3 separate regions of the Homo sapiens genome follow, and all the other regions are linked to region 3. The links are contacts of gene promoters, found by promoter capture Hi-C in human tissues and cell types (Jung and others, 2019). All regions are on one chromosome and are shown on one strand. Each heading gives the region's core, a stretch centred on a gene start or on the middle of the fragment in contact. The rest is flanking DNA. Distances are from core to core; before and after follow the strand shown.

What was found. Contacts are between HindIII fragments. The study calls those that stand out against the background at their distance.
Region 1: a fragment that was not itself captured here is called in contact with the fragment with the promoter of CLCA2 in region 3 in 1 of the 25 tissues and cell types used here (mesenchymal stem cells).
Region 2: a contact is called between a fragment that was not itself captured here and the fragment with the promoter of CLCA2 in region 3, in 2 of the 25 tissues and cell types used here (lymphoblastoid cells and spleen).

The regions. Positions count from the first base shown.
Region 1 is chr1:86,375,267-86,378,179 of GRCh38, forward strand. ODF2L (outer dense fiber of sperm tails 2 like) reads right to left here. Exons shown (of 17, transcript NM_001366781.1): 8 at 967-1,152. Among named protein-coding and RNA genes, the nearest start is that of MIR7856, 19 kb to the left of the region's middle. The HindIII fragment of the contact is 4,978 bases long and covers 1-2,913 here.
Region 2 is chr1:86,473,060-86,476,137 of GRCh38, forward strand. CLCA1 (chloride channel accessory 1) reads left to right here. Exons shown (of 14, transcript NM_001285.4): 2 at 358-498; 3 at 670-817. LOC124904210 (a long non-coding RNA gene) reads right to left here. Exons shown (of 3, transcript XR_007066206.1): 3 at 2,837-2,906. Among named protein-coding and RNA genes, the nearest start is that of CLCA1, 5.7 kb to the left of the region's middle. The HindIII fragment of the contact is 5,369 bases long and covers 1-3,078 here.
Region 3 is chr1:86,422,414-86,425,553 of GRCh38, forward strand. CLCA2 (chloride channel accessory 2) reads left to right here and starts at 1,758. Exons shown (of 14, transcript NM_006536.7): 1 at 1,758-2,020; 2 at 2,926-3,063. The coding sequence starts at 1,835. The HindIII fragment of the contact is 8,393 bases long and covers 1-3,140 here.

The DNA of each region.
Region 1 (2,913 bases), core at 144-2,643, 48 kb before region 3:
ATTACAGCAACAGAAAGGAGGACAATGCAAAAATATATTTTCTCATTTATCTCTCCCTACAAACACATGAGATAGGGAGTATTATGATGCCCTATTTTATACATGAGGAAATTGAAGAGGTTAAGTTCCTTATCCCAAGTCACAAGGTTAACAAAATACTACTTTGTTTGCCATAAACTTTTTATACAAGTCTGTTTTCATTTCTAAAAGCCTCTAATAATTCTATAAGCCTTAACATAAGTTCTTAAGAGGCAGGATATCAGTGAGACTTTTTTAAAAAAATTATTAATTAGTAATTGAATAAATATAATAATTTATCAAAAACAACAAAGCACTAAGGCCATTTTCAAATTTGTACTATACCAAAGATATATTTTACTTGGTGTGTTTATGTCAGCACATGGTTTTAAATGTATTACAGAGATTAAATTAGGTTAATTACTGAATAAAGTCATAGGGTCTAATAACATAAATCAGCATTTCTCAAACTAGTGTTCCTCAGAACCAGTTCCAAGAGTTGCTTTGTGCATAAAAGACTAGCTCTGTGGTTAAAAAAGTGTGGGAAACTCTTAGTTCAATACCCTTCATTCCACTGTTTCTGAAAGCCTTCTCAGAACCTTTAATTTGCTAACATAGACCACAATGTCCCAAGGGGAAATATGTATGAAGTATTACCCTTAGTTAGTTGGCCAATAGAACCTTTTTTTGTGTGTGGAGGCGGGGGGGACACACTTAATATTTCCTTTAAGTAAAGTTCCCAAGGAAATGCTGATATATTTCAATATGAAAATTTGACATTTTATGTAATATTTCAAAGTAAAAGATTAAAGCAAAAAGTGTAAGTTTTTTCTGGTATTAACAGCATTAAGAAAAGAATAAAATTACTATATTAAGCATCATGATATTAATTATATAAACTACGTACATAATAGATCTTTTAATTTTAAAAAGAATGCATTTACATACCTGATCTCTAATTTGGGAAGTAAGCTTTTCAATAGCTCCTGTAAAATGGTCAAGCCTTTGTTTGTAAACTTTAGATGCCTTTTTTAAAGCTACAGTTTTTTGCCTACTTGCTTCTTTCATCACTATAGCCTCATTCTTATTCATTCTTGATTGCAGGTTCCACTTGGCTATCTTGGTTTCTAAGCTCTAAAAAAAAAATTAGCAACAATTAAATTATTTCAGAACTCCAATGTTTATGTAAACATTGTAAAAATATGTACATAACTGATATGGTTTGTGTATTACTCCATTCTCACACTGCCATAAAGAAATACCCTAGACTGAGTAATTTATAAAGGAAAGAAGTTTAATTGACTCACAGTTCCACACGGCTGGGAAGATCTCAGGAAACTTACAATCATTGTAGAAGGCAGAGGAAGAAAGGACCTTCTTCACATGGCGACAGGAGACAGAAGAGTGAGGAGCAAAGGGGGAAGAGCCCCTTATAAAACCATCAGGTCTCACGAGAACTCACTCATTATCATGAGAACAGCATGGGGAAAACCACCCCCATGATCCAATCACCTCCCACCAGGTCTCTCCCTAGACATGTGGAGATTATAAGGATTACAATTCAAAATGAGATTTGGGTGGGGCAGAGCCAAACCATAGCATTCTGCCCCTTGCCCCTCCTAAATCTCATGTCTTCACATTTCAAAACACAATCATGCCTTTCCAACAGTCCTCCAAAGTCTTACTTCATTCCAGCATTAACCCAAAAGCCCAAGTCTAAAGTTTCATCTGAGACAAGGCAAGTCCCTTCTGCCTAGGAGCCAGTAAAATAAAAAGCAAGTTAATTACTTCCAAGAAACAATGGGGGCACAGGTATTAGGTAAATGTTCCCATTCCAAATGAAATAAATTGGCCAAAAAAAAGGGGGCTACAGGACCCATGCAAGTCCAAAATCCAGCAGGGCAGTCATTAAATCTTAAATCTCCTAAATAATCTCCCTTGACTCCATGTTTCACATCTAGGTCATGCTGATGCAAGGAGTGGGCTCCCACGGTCTTTGGCAGCTCCAGCCTTATGGCCTGCAGGGTACAGCCCCCTTCCTAGCTGCTTTCCCAGGCTGGCACTGAGTATCTGTGGCTCTTCCAGGCACATGGTGCAAGCTGTCAATGCATCTACCATTCTGGGGTCTGGAGGACTTGTGGCCCTCTTCTCACAGCTCCACTAGGCAGTGCTCCAATGGGACTCTATGTGGGGTCTCCAACCCCATATTTCTCTTCCACACTGCCCCAGCAGAGGTTCCCCATAAGGGCTCCACCCCCGCAGCAAACTTCTGCCTGGACATCCAGGCACTTCCACACATCCCCTGAAATCTAGGCAGAGGTTCCCAAGCCTCAATTCTTGACTTGTGTGCACCCACAGGCCCAACACCACATGGAAGTTGCCAAGGCTTGGGGCATCCACCCTCTGAAGAAATGGCCTGAGCTATGCATTGGCCCCTTTTAGCCACAACTAGAATGCAGGGCACCAAGTCCCAAGACTGTACAAAGCAGCAAGGCTCTGGGCCCAGCCCACAAAACCACTTTTTCCTCCTAGGCCTCTGGGCCAGTGATGGGAGGGACTGCCATGAAGACCTCTGACATACCCCAGAAACATTTTCCCCATTAATATTCGGCTTCTCATTATTTATGCCAATTTATGCAGACCACTTGAATTTCTCCCCAGAAAATGGGTGTTTCTTTTCTATTGCATGGGCAGGCTGCAAATTTTCCAAACTTTTATGCTCTGTTTCCCTTTTAAATGTATGTTCCAATTTCAAACCTTCTCTCTGTGAATGCATAAAACTGAAAGCTTTCAGAATCAACCAGGTCATATCTTGAATGTTTTTCTGATTAGAAATTTCTTCTACCAGATACCCTAAATCATCTCTCTCAAGTTCAAAGTTCACAGATCTCTAGG
Region 2 (3,078 bases), core at 148-2,647, 50 kb after region 3:
CTTTGTTCCTCACCACAACCTTATCAGCCAGTCACTATAATATAATATTCCATTTTGTTAATGGGAAAACTGAGGCTCAGAATTAGAAATTGCCGAATGTCCCACAAAAAGTGGTGCAGCCAGGATTAGAGTCTGTCTCCAGAGTCTGCATTGTTACTGATTACTCGGTGACACAGAATATTTGGTAAATGCTCTCAAAGCTTAGCTATTATTATTAAAAGGTATTTCTATATTTCTTCTTCCCATCTTAACAAATAACAAGTTTTTGAAAATGTGAAATCCAGATGTGAATTTGAATGACTGATAATTTAATTTATTTTCAGTCAATTGTTACGTATGTTTTCTTTTTCTTCCCAGGACATGGTGACCCAGGCATCTCTGTATCTGCTTGAAGCTACAGGAAAGCGATTTTATTTCAAAAATGTTGCCATTTTGATTCCTGAAACATGGAAGACAAAGGCTGACTATGTGAGACCAAAACTTGAGACCTACAAAAATGTGAGAATATCAAGTTCTTCTTTAAAATTCCACTTTCTCCTGTAACCAAGATTTTTTAAAATCAAAATATTCTAGAATCAAATGTGATTGTTTGAAACTTACTCCAGTACGAATATGGTTAATTCATTTGCTGAAACTTTGTGATGATAGAAACTTTTTCTTAAATTTCAGGCTGATGTTCTGGTTGCTGAGTCTACTCCTCCAGGTAATGATGAACCCTACACTGAGCAGATGGGCAACTGTGGAGAGAAGGGTGAAAGGATCCACCTCACTCCTGATTTCATTGCAGGAAAAAAGTTAGCTGAATATGGACCACAAGGTATGAAATATTCTACCATACTTCTCATACAATTTAACTATTTTATGTTCAAAGTGTATCAACACTAGCATTATCTTTGTGAGTAAGCATGTATAAGCCAAACAATTAGAGATAAAACATCATAGCATTTTTCACTTAAAATAGAACATGCATTTCACTTAGAATTTCCAGCATTTCTCAGCTATGAATTTAATTTACTTTAGATACATGTATAAATACGGTATTTTGAATTCTCGTAAATTATTATTATAGCATCATACTATAACTGTAAAAGAATTTAATTTGTATTAAGTTTCTATGGATATGTAAGGAGACAACGGAATTAAATCTTCTACCTGCAATTCATACAATAGCCACCAGATGGCGTATATGTGCAGTGCTCTCAGACGTGCATTCAAATTATATATGAATCTTGTTAAAATGTGGATTCTCCTTTAGGAGGCCGAGGCGGGCGGATCACGAGGTCAGGAGATCAAGACCATCCTGGCTAACACAGTGAAACCCCGTCTCTACTAAAAATACAAAAAATTAGCCGGGCGTGGTGGCGGACGCCTGTAGTCCCAGCTATTTGGGAGGCTGAGGCAGGAGAATGGCGTGAACCCGGGAGGCGGAGGTTGTAGTGAGCCAAGATCGCGCCACTGCACTCCAGCCTGGGCGACAGAGCGAGACTCCGTATCAAAAAAAAAAAAAGGGGGGGGATTCTCATTCATTAGGTGTGGGATGGGACTCAAGAATCTGCATTTTTAACAAGCTCACAGGAGATGTTGATTCTACCGGTCTGTGGATCACACTTTGAGTAGCAGACAGAATACCTTTGCAATTCATCTCTCAAAAACATGTAACTAAAGAAAAAACTCCAATGATAAATAAACTTTATCATTTGTATATGAGGTACATATAACAATTATTGGAGGAAATATTAAACAAGTAATGACATATATATAAAATGTACTTTCCAAGAATCAAATGTGACTCTTTACTAAATAACTAGCATTAGATTTCTTTACCTCAAAAAAGATTTGGATCCCCTAGAACCAGCTTGATTTTTTTTAACATATAAGGCACAGAAAACAAGCAAACAAAAGAACGCTATCCAAGCCCCATCCCCAAACACACTAGAGCGCTTAAAGACCTGGTCAAAAGGATGTGTCAAGCGTACCTCTTTGTTGTTCTACAACACATTTCACCTCCATAACAGGAACAGAACATTCTCAATGTATGACTCAACAAATAAGTGTTGAATTGATTGACCTGACTGCCTCATCCCACTCCTGAGCCCACTCCAGCCATCATGATCATATATAAAACCATTCCTTAATAGTGTTTCCTTTCTGTATTGTGACTCCACTCCAACTCTCTCACAATCATCTTTAAAGAGACCACCAATACCTACAGAATAAAGTCCCAATCCTTAGTGTGGGATACTGAGTTTCCACAGAATGCCCCACCTCACATAACCCTCCAAATTCAGCCTTCCTTGGAATTTACATTCCAGAAAAACTGAGCTGTACATAAGTCATTCACTCAAGTTTAACAAATATCACTGAATGCCTGCTAAGTTCTAGACACTATGTGCCCAGATATGACAGTGAAGAAGTCATATTGTCTGTCCTCATGGAGACAATTTTCTATTGTGGGAGACTGGCAAGTAAGTAGCAATGACTGTTTATCATTGTAAGTGCCTAATGGGAGATGGTGAAATGCAAACGCGGAGTACTGGGCCTAAGATGAGGATTTCAGGGCAGGCTTCTAGGCACATAGAAGCTTGATTTTCAAAGAAGAATAAGAGTTATCCAGACAAAGATGGGAAGGAAGTATTCCAAGCTAAGGAAACATAGGTAAAAAAAGACCAGAGTTGAACAAGAGCATGATATGACCTAGGAAAAAAAGGAGTTCAGGAATTCATCCTAATTCTAGAGTTTGGGAAGGGAGTGGAGAACAGCAAGAAATAAGGCTGCAGAGAAGAGCAGGCCTGAGGCATCAGGGACCTTGTACACCATGTTGAGAAGTTGGACTTACCCTGAAGGATGGAGACATGGAGGCCAATCTGGTGACTATTGCAGCAATTCAGGAGTAAGTGGCAATGGGCCTGGAAAGGTGAGAATGAATAAAAAAGACAGAGATGGAGTAAGCAGACCTTGAGGTCTGATGGGATAGGAGCCATGAGGGAGGAGAATTGGTTGAGGATGCTGCCCTGGCTGCTGTAGGAATGCCTGGGCTCCCATAGCCGCCTTTGCTGACCTCTGTCATCATACCTGTAC
Region 3 (3,140 bases), core at 508-3,007:
TTGTTTTATTTACTTCTCCTGACTCCATTCATTCAGTCATTCAACAGAGAGTTTACTGAGATAGGTGCTGGGGAAGTACTGAATGAAAACAGACTCCATCCCTTCCTTCATACAGCAGGAAGCTGACAATCAATTATACAATATAAATTTGACATTGTTACCATGATCATACTGCAAAGGTGAGTTATCTGATGCTATGGAAGCATGAAAGAAGGGAATTTGACTTAGTTATGGAGCTCAGGCCAGGCTTCCAGGACACAGCTGGAATTTGAAGGAAAAGCAGGTGAGAAGAAGCATGAGAAAATGATTCAAGCAAGACAGCAAGGGGAAAAAAATTCCCTCAACATCTGTCAACATTGCAGTGCAATATCAAAGCCCAAGTTCAGAAGACTCCAACCTTGCTGGGAAGAAGAGTGACATCACACTGCCCATGAAGATGTTGAAAACAGACAATGTTGGTGAAATCCCTGTTGAGAGCAGGGACAGACCGTTTCCTAAATGCTACACTCCCCTCCCCAGAAATGTTCCGAGACGGGGCCACAGCAGGGAAGAGTCACAGGTTTTGCTTGCTGTGGACCTCTGACGCTGTGAATAAAACTTTTTCTTTAGTTTTACAATAGATGTCACTGTGCGGCATTCTTAAACACAAAGAAGAGGGAGAAACGAGGTTACTAAGATAATTTAGTAACTAAGAGAGAACATGATATATTGAAAAACAGTGGAATTTGGAGTCAGTTGGTTCATTCTAGTACGATGATAATACTCCCAACCTTGAACAAGTTACTTAGATTTTTTTGAACATTAGTTCTGTCACCCATAAAATAGGCATAATAAAATCCATCACTCAAAAAATGTTAGTTTCTTCTCTCATTGGCTAATTTTCATAATCAGAATTTCCAAGACTCATTATTTTCATTTGAAAAGTACAAATTATACCTGCATCAGAGTATTGATATTTAAATGAGTTCATTTGTAAACTTTAAAGCATGAGGTAAATATCAGGTATTATGAATCAGTCATAAAATATTTGCGATGGTTACTATATATTAGATCCTGTTTTTGGTCCTGGAGAAATGGAGGGTTGACTGAAGCAGGGCCTTGCCCTTAGGAGAGAGCTGAAGGAGAAATCTATTCTTCTTCCTGAGGCAGAGAGAAAAGGTAGCAAGGCCAGAGGGAAAGGGCTGCACAGGCACCCAAGTTCCTGGCAGTTGGCCCTCTCTGGGGGATATCTGATATCTGACCTCCAGCCATCAGCTGAGAGCTTGCCCAGACTATCTGACCCAAGGGCTGTAGGGACTGGGCTGCAGAATGGATTTCTAAATCTTCAAAATAAACAGGCAAGGAAATCTTGCAACAAATGAAAAATGACTTGAGGGCAGTAGAAAGTACTTGTGCCAACTGATGGAGGAGGTTATGAAAAATGAGGAGAGGAAAATCACTATAGACTTCTGTGTTTCTACTGCAAGTGGATTGAACAGTCCAGATATACTGATTTCCAGCCCATATTTCCTGCTTTTAAGCTCCTTTGGTCTTATTTCCCTCTTCTTTCTGAAAAGTTATAAAATGAATGAAGGGCAGAATGTTTCTTGCCCAACCATGATTCAGGAGGCAGCTCAGCCACAGAACAGGCAAGTGTAGCATTGCCTGGAGGAAAAGGACTTGTAGAGGCAGGTCCCAGATGGATCCACCCCAGACTTTTCAAAGAAGACACCTCCTTCATCTTGTGTTCTAAAACCTTGCAAGTTCAGGAAGAAACCATCTGCATCCATATTGAAAACCTGACACAATGTATGCAGCAGGCTCAGTGTGAGTGAACTGGAGGCTTCTCTACAACATGACCCAAAGGAGCATTGCAGGTCCTATTTGCAACCTGAAGTTTGTGACTCTCCTGGTTGCCTTAAGTTCAGAACTCCCATTCCTGGGAGCTGGAGTACAGCTTCAAGACAATGGGTATAATGGATTGCTCATTGCAATTAATCCTCAGGTACCTGAGAATCAGAACCTCATCTCAAACATTAAGGTGAGTGGAAATTATGAAATTGATACTAGCATCCCATTTGATCAGACCTGTAGCCTTATTTAGAAGCTAACTACCCTGCCTGGTTTGTATTTGAGTAATACAGAGAACAGCATTTTTAAAAGATAGCGCCACAACGTTATGATTATGGCTAACTAAGCCAGTTTGTTCATCTAATTCTGTGTAGTCTCAGCTCACAGAGTGTTGATCTAGCCCTCTATTTTGTTATTGTTGGTTGCTACTAATTTCAGCTCTTTTGTTTTCCTACATGACTGTTTTTGGGGTAGCAACTTAGAAAAATAACAACCCATTGTGGCAACAAAGATTGAATATTTAACTGATGAATAAGCATGATAATGAGCATGCTTGTTAAAATCATATTGCTAGATTCCATCCTGAGGGTGAGAATTCTCAGGCAGAAAGGGTGAGAGTCTGCACGGTGGGCCAAAAAGCAAAATTATTTCTTTTCACTTGAATGTGCTGTAACATAATTGACTATTTTTACTTTAATATGGCAAGGGAGGATCATAGCTCTATGATGTAAGAGCCTCCATTTAGTATTGCTTTAGTGAAATCAGTAGCATCATAAGGTGTGGTCTTGAATGTGCCCACAGGTGTGACATGAAAAGGATTTGTTCCACAAAAGCTTAAAAGCCTTTCTCAAAATTGGGAAAACTATGAAGGCAAGCACAGACATATAATTAGTGTCCTAAAATCTTCCATATAATCATTTAAAGTTTTTTTAAAAATTTGCTCCTATGTTTTCCCAAAGTCTAGGGCTTTCTCTAAAAGAAATGGGTCTCTTCAAAATATTTCATTGTCTTTTATTACTGTTTAAGCATACCAGAAAACCAAAACATACAGGATTTACAAGTGGTAAAGTAAGTTTTTCTTTTGTCTGGCTGTAGGAAATGATAACTGAAGCTTCATTTTACCTATTTAATGCTACCAAGAGAAGAGTATTTTTCAGAAATATAAAGATTTTAATACCTGCCACATGGAAAGCTAATAATAACAGCAAAATAAAACAAGAATCATATGAAAAGGTAAGAATCCAGGATTTCATTCAATGATCTCAAGGGGAAAAAAAACACCAAAATATACTGTGCTCAAACGATAAAAG